2 separate regions of the Homo sapiens genome follow, and region 2 is linked to region 1. Evidence: promoter capture Hi-C in human tissues and cell types (Jung and others, 2019). All regions are on one chromosome and are shown on one strand. The core of a region is centred on a gene start or on the middle of the fragment in contact, and the rest is flanking DNA. Distances in the headings are between cores, read along the strand shown. Region 1 holds the start of KANK4 (KN motif and ankyrin repeat domains 4). Region 2 overlaps PATJ (PATJ crumbs cell polarity complex component).

What was found. The method cuts DNA at HindIII sites, captures the fragments that hold promoters and counts their contacts. A contact is called where the count stands out against the background at its distance.
Region 2: a fragment that was not itself captured here is called in contact with the fragment with the promoter of KANK4 in region 1 in 1 of the 25 tissues and cell types used here (H1 embryonic stem cells).

Annotation. Positions count from the first base shown.
Region 1 is chr1:62,317,541-62,321,052 of GRCh38, forward strand. KANK4 (KN motif and ankyrin repeat domains 4) reads right to left here and starts at 1,894. Exons shown (of 10, transcript NM_181712.5): 1 at 1,566-1,894. RefSeq lists enhancers at 487-1,211, 1,212-1,934. The HindIII fragment of the contact is 19,099 bases long and covers 1-3,512 here.
Region 2 is chr1:62,142,219-62,145,730 of GRCh38, forward strand. All of the region lies in intron 41 of PATJ (PATJ crumbs cell polarity complex component), which reads left to right. Among named protein-coding and RNA genes, the nearest start is that of L1TD1, 51 kb to the right of the region's middle. The HindIII fragment of the contact is 6,313 bases long and covers 1-3,512 here.

The sequences.
Region 1 (3,512 bases), core at 644-3,143:
GGACTGCCCATTTGGGCCCCTGGTAGTAACTCAGCCAACAGAGGCTTTCAGTTCCTCTAACCCACTCTGCTACTCACCTTAGGCCCTCTCACACGCGGCTACTTCTGCCTAGAAGGCTCATTCCACTCTCTCCTGTCATTCTGCAGACTGACCGACTACTGGACCTATCAGGTTTTCAGGGTATCTAGTCCTTTCAAAGAACTCAGCACTGGAGAATTCTCTATTTATGTGAGTGATTTAATTCCTGTTGGTGTTGGCCACTGGAATGCAAGCTCCATGAGGCCAGAAGGTGCCAGTTTTGTTCACTTCTGTACCTCACTACGTTGACCAGTGCCTGGCACAGAGCATTTGTTGATTGAATCAGTCTGGTCTGATCCCCGAGCCATTCCCCAAAACTCACTTTCCCCAGGTCACATTATGGTCCAGTGAAGTGGGAAGGCTGGGCTTGAAAAGGCAGTATTAGAACGGACTCTGCCTCCATTCCCAGTGTAGCTTTCCTGTGTCACATTTTGAGAGGCTCTAAGCAACCTGGGCTTGATTTACCCAAGCAGGTCCTTGGGAATCGTGTTTAACTCAAGATGCTTTCTCCCCATGCCTCAGCCGGGTCACTGGCTGCATCTGATCCTCCTCTGGCCCTATTTGGTAGATAGGACTTTGCCCAGGCCTCAGGGGGTCCTCCTCCCTCTCCTGGAAAATACTCCCTCTTTGCCCTAAAGGCTTGCACTCCAGGGCGCTTAGGAACTAAGACTTGAGTTTGGCAGCCCCGAAGGATGCCCAGGGCAAGAGTTAGGTTCAGACCCAGCGTAGCGGCCATGGGCTCGACTTTCCAACTCCCATTTCTGGCCAGTCTGCGGGGTCAAAGTACCCAGTCACAGATTTGACCTTACCGGAGAGGCAGAAGGGAAAGGAGCCCACAGGAGGCATGCGGGCTGGGCAAAGCGCCCTCGGCGGCGTCTAGAGCACTCGGAGCTGCCCCATTGCCTCCGCCCAAGGTCGCGGCCCAAAGGGAGCCCTGGAAAGTTCAGCCAGGGGCCGAGGAGTGCCAGGGTTGGCACTACGGGGAGACTTTTGCGACAGGAGAGAGACTAAGAGCTCGATTCCAGGTAGCAGTGGGAGCCCGCGGCAAAGAACGCCCAGTCCCGCAGGCTGCATCCCAGACCGCAGCGCCTAGCTCGGAAAAGCTGGGCGGGGGCTGCACCACCTGAGTCGCAAGGACAGCACGGCCTCCCCCTCCTCACCAGTGTTCTCCACCCCCAGAATTGGGGCGCGGAGAGCCAATCTGGGCTGGAAAGGGAGCGGCGCCCACCTTTGGGCAGCCCGAGCAGCCCCGCTCCTTTTCTGTCGCAGACCCCAGGCTGGGAGGCGGGGGCGCCAGGTCGGCCCAAGCTGCCGCAGCCACTGCTTTAAAGGGAGCCGGGGACGCGGCGCTGGGGACTGGGCGAGGCGGGTGGCAGAGGCAAGAGGAGAGTGGTCGAGCGCCGGGGCCAACACTCGGGTCGCGCAGGGCGGGTGTTGAACACCCCAGCAGACGCACTGCGGGGGACTGGGGTCGCAGAGTCCCTTACCTTGGCGAGCTGCGGAAGTCCTGCGCGAGGCGGCCCGCGGTGCACGGGGCCGGGGCAGCTAGGCGCACACCCCGGCTTCGGAGCGCACGCAACCTCCGGGTGCACTGTCCGCGTCCCAGGCGCGCACCCCGGGGCTGGCGCACCCTGGTCGTCCGCGGCGCGCACACCCTCCAGGCGCCCTCTGGCCGACGGTCTCGGCCCTGGCCCCGGCGCACCCCTGCGGGCACACCCACCGCGGCGGATGCGGGACTGGCCAGGCGCCGCCAGCCGCGGCTTCGCCCCGCGTCGCCAGCTGCCAACAGCGCCCGAGTCCCCGCCTTCGCTAGGGGAGAAAAAAAAGACTCCTGACGCGGCGCGGACTTTGGTGTGTAGGAAGGGGCAGAATTGCGAAACCGAGGGGAGGGTCTTAGCCTCGATAAACTCAAAAGCCCTTGATAAACATGAGCTTAGAAGAAAAACTTTTTGAAAAGAGACCAAAAACTCCTAACCTGTTCATAGCGCTTTTCAGATTCCCAAAGTGCTTTCGTATGCGTTTATCTCGGTTCATCTAGACATTTCCATCCTCATTTGATAGGTGCAGAAACAGCACCAGACAAGGTAATGACTTGCCCCAGCCAGGACTGGAACCTAGGTCTGGCCACTGGGAAGCTGGGTGCAGTAAGTTAGGTCCTCGCCAGCGGATGTGGGCCAGTGAGGGCTGGGGTCCTAGTAACAGAACTTTTACCTCTCCTAAATCGTCTTTTTCCATCTCCTTTTTTTCTTCCCAATCCTTGCTGTAGTCCCACTCAGGAACCCTAAGTCTTTCATTTCACACTCCGACCTCCCACCAAAGGTTTGTTGTTGTTGTTGCTGTTTGAGACGGAATCTCGCTCTATGGCCAAGCTGGAGAGCAGTGGCGCGATCCCGACTCACTGGAACTTCCGCCTCCCTGGTTCAAGCGATTCTCCTGCCTCAGCCTCCCGAGTAGCTGGGACTACAGGCGCACACCACCACGCCCAGCTAACTTTTGTATTTTTAGTAGAGACGGGGTTTCACCATGTTGGCCAGGCGGGTCTCGAACGTCAGGTGATCCGCCCACCTCGGCCTCCCAAAGTGCTGGGATTACATGCATGAGCCACGGCGCCCGGCCCACCAGAGTTTTTTATCAGTTCAAAATGTTTGCGTTTCAACCGCTAACCTTGAATGAACAGTTCACTAAGTGCCTGGTGGGCGTTGTGCACCCTAACCCTAGGAAAAAGGAGCTGCTGCTACTCCTCCTTTACAGATGAAGACAACAGAGATAGGCAAGTAGAGGGCCGTGGACCCCGTAAGACTCCGGATGCCAGCTCTGACCCCCACAATGGGCATCCTTCATGGGCCCATTGGCAAGGGCTAACACTTAGGCAAAGGGGTTTCGTTTTTGACATTGTGACCCAGATGGGGGAGTACTTTCTAGGACTTTCATTTTACGTTTTTATAGAAATATGGTTATTTGAACGATTTCACTTCCACTAGAGCTCCACTGGAGCAAATCAATATCCCAGAGCAATAATAAATGGCAGCAGAGACTTGGTCCCAGTGTTGGGACATAGTAGGGAGTGGTGGGGACTGTGGTGAGCTTGATAGCAGCTCCAGGTTCTTGCCCAAGGGAAGGGGCTGCTGCTACTCAGCTCAGTCTATTTTGTCATCTAGGGAAAGGGATTCATGTGGCCAGATCCTCCCATTTTGAAAAAGAAGCCATCAGCCGGACACGGTGGCTCACGCCAGTAATCCCAGCACTGTGGGAGGCCAAGGTGGGTGGATCAGCTGAGGTCAGGAGTTTGAGACAAGCCTGGCCAACATGTGAAACCATCTGTACTAAAAATACAAAATTAGCAAGGTGTGGTGGTGCGTGCCTGTAATCCCAGCTACTCAGGAGGCTGAGGCAGGAGAATCACTTGAACCCAGGAGGCAGAGATTGCAGTGCAC
Region 2 (3,512 bases), core at 450-2,949, 180 kb before region 1:
CAAAGCATAGGACTCCCCTCCACTACATCCTGAATTGATTAATTTCAAGCCTCTATCTGAATGCTTGCTCCACTGAGGTGCTCATGTCCTAGCAAACTGTGCCATTCCATTCCATAACTGCCTTGTTACTTTTTTTTTTTCTCCTTTAAGAACCCAACACCTATCTCCTTGTAACCTCCATCAGTCTCACCCTGCTCTGTGGAAATTCAGAAAATTGAGTCCCAAAAAGCAACCACAGAAAATTGAGTCCCATAATCCCTATTCCTTATGACAGTTTTAGATTCGCTCATTCACTCCACAATTATTAAGCAATTGTTATGTGCTAGACACATTAGCATTGTGCTGAGGAGAAGCAGTCCTGATCCTCATGGATCCTGTGATTGGGTGGGAAATACAGTCAACATGCACATAGATGCTAATCACCATAATTTGTGAGAAATACTTGGAGAGTGCTATGGAGAGGAAAACAGGAGAAATTAAACACGGATGGTCAAAGCAGGCTTGTAGAAGGGAAGTGACATTTAAGCTGATGCCAGGCACGCTGGTTTGGGGGATGGGGGGAATTCCCCGCCTGGAGAGGGAACTGGAATGTGGGGTGGAGTCGAGAGAGAGACAGGATTAGAGGAGTAGGCTATGGAGGGAACTTTATATGCATAATTAAAGTCTGAATTTTATTCCAAGTCCAAAGGGAAAACACTACAAGGTTTTAAGCAGGGGAGTGCGGATACCCGTTTTATATTTGAAAAGGTAACTGGCTAACGTGTGGGAATGAGGTGAGACAAAGGTGAATGGGGATTCCAGCTAACAGGCACTTGATGATGAACTGAATTAGGATGGTCACCTGTAGATGGAAAGTAAAGTTTTGAGAAGGATTTTGGAGGTAGAATCCAGGGGACTTGATGGATTACGTACAGCAAGCAGGAGTGGAGGGATCAGATATTCAGAGAGCGATCAGCTATATGGCTGGCATCCTAGCATCCTTTCCAGTTAGACAGGCACCAGCCAGCACACCAGTATTTTCACTATTTCACCCAGTATATTTCTAACTTGGCATCTGGAGGTGCCATTTACTAAAATGAGGAAAACTAGAAGAAAAGTGAATTGAAGGAGATGAATTGTTAGATCAAAAGTTTGAATATTGTGTTAATTTTGATACATCTTTGAGATATTAAAATGCAGATGTCAAGTTGGCAATTGGATATCACAGACTAAGCTGGGAATTTTTTTTTTTTTTTTTTTTTTTTTTTTTTGAGACAGCGTCTCCCTCTGTCACCCAGGCTGAAGTGCCATGGCTTGATCTCGGCTCACTGCAACCTCTGCCTCCTGGGTTCAAGCGATTCTCCTGCCTCAGCCTCCCAAGTAGCTGGGATTACAGATGCCCACCACCACGCCAGCTAATTTTTGTATATTTAGTAGAGACCAGATTTCACCATGTTGGCCAGGCTGGTCTTGAACTCTTTACCTCAGGTGATCCAGCCCACTCTGCCTCCCAAAGTGCTGGGATTACAGGCGTGAGCCACCACGCTGGCCTAAGCTGGGATTGTGAGCACGTTGGAATGTAAAGCTGTGGGAATGTACATGCTGTCACTTGAGCCTGAGTGTGCAAGTGGATAATGGGCCCAGGACTGCACCATGAGAGATGAATGGAAGAAGAGCAAAGAGATGGAGAAACAGGCCCCTGCAGAAGGAAAGCCAGAAGAGTGTGGGTCATGGAAGTTTGGGTGGGAGATGGGGATGGAAGCTGGAGTGGGGTAGGTTTATAAAGATGGTGGACTTCAAGAGTAGGGAGGATAAAAGAGTTCATGGACAAGTTAACCTTCCAGTACACTTGCTGTGGAAGAGAGCAGAAAGCTGGTGCTAAGAGGAGAGACTTTTCGGGGCAGGGAGAAATCTATCGTTTCCTCCTTTAATCTTTCGTCCTAAATATTTCCCAATTCATTCCGTCATTCTTCATGCAGTGGTATTTCCAGAAGATTCTATAACTTGGACATAGCAGTGTTTTCCCCAGAATAGGATGCTTCACCCAAAATGTGTTCTCATTCTTCATACAGTGGTACTTCCAGAAGATTCTGTAACTTGGACATAGCAGTGTTTTCCCCAGAATAGGATGCTTCACCCAAAATGTGTTCTGGGGCAGGCCTATTTTCTTTCTTTTTCTGCTCTACTTAACAGATGAAGCTTAATTTAGCATTTTAGGCAGCTGTGCCCTCTGTTGGCCTTTTCTGAAATTGCAATCAAGTCGAGCTTTGCATTGCTGGCAGACAAAGTTCCCTCTGTATTTGTGCAGTGAGAATTATAACCCAGAAGCAGAGGTAACCAAGGAGCTCTTGAGAAAGTATCTCTGGTAACTAGTTGAGGTGGAAGACAACTCCAGGATAAGGAGGCAAAACAGACTTTTATGATTCCCATTTAATAGATGAGGAAGCTGAAACTCACATATGGCATTGATAAGAGGCTGAAACTGAACTCTGGAACTCCATCCTGAGTCCTGTTGTGGACTCCCAGAGCTATACTATATTTCTTCTAAATGCTCTAGAATGTTATTTGCAAAAAAAAAAAATATATATATATATATATAATTAGCAGAATACAAAGTGCCATTATTCTACTATACCTTTGTTTTTGTTTGTGGGTTTATTTTTATCTTATTTTATTTTTGAGACAGTTTTACTCTGGAGTGCAGTGATACGATCTCTGCTTATTGCAACCTCTGCCTCCCAAGTAGCTGGGACTCCAGGCCTGTGCCACCACACCGGCTAATTTCTTTTGTACTTTTAGTAGAGACAGAGTTTTGCCATGTTACCCAGGCTGGTCTTGAACTCCTGAGCTCAAGTGATCCGCCCACCTCGGCTTCCAAAAGTGCTAGGATTACAGGTGCGAGCCACCGTGCACAGCCTATTCTACTATACCTTTGTTTAGGACTATCTAAGAGGCAAATCTCAGGGAGTCAGAGATATTCATCCATTCTTTCATTCACCAGTTATTTACTGAGCACCTGCTATGTGCTAGGCACTCTTCTATGTGATGGGGAATACAGGAGTGAACAAAGCAGACAAACTTCCTGCCCTTACATTCTAATATGAAGTGATAGACAATAAATAAGATAAACAAGGTAAGATGTATGCAGTTCATTAGATAGTGATGGTGGTAAGAAGGAAACAGGCCAGGTAAGGTGGCTCACGCCTGTAATCCTCCTTACTTTTGGAGCCAAGGTGGGAGGATTACTTGAGCCCAGGAGTTTAAGACCAGCCTGAGCAACACAGTGAGACACTGTCGCTACAAAAAATAAAAAGTTAGCTGGGCATGGTGGTGCATGCCGGTAGTCCCAGCTACTTGGAGGATGAGGTGAGGGGATCTCTTGAGCCCAGGAGGTCAAGGCTGCAGTGAGCTGAGATCATACCACTGCACTCCAGCCTGGGTGACAGAGCAAGTCCCTGTCTCAAAAAATAAAGAAAAGGCCAGGTGCAGTGGCTCATGCCTGTAACTCAGCACTTTGGGAGGCCAAGGCGGGC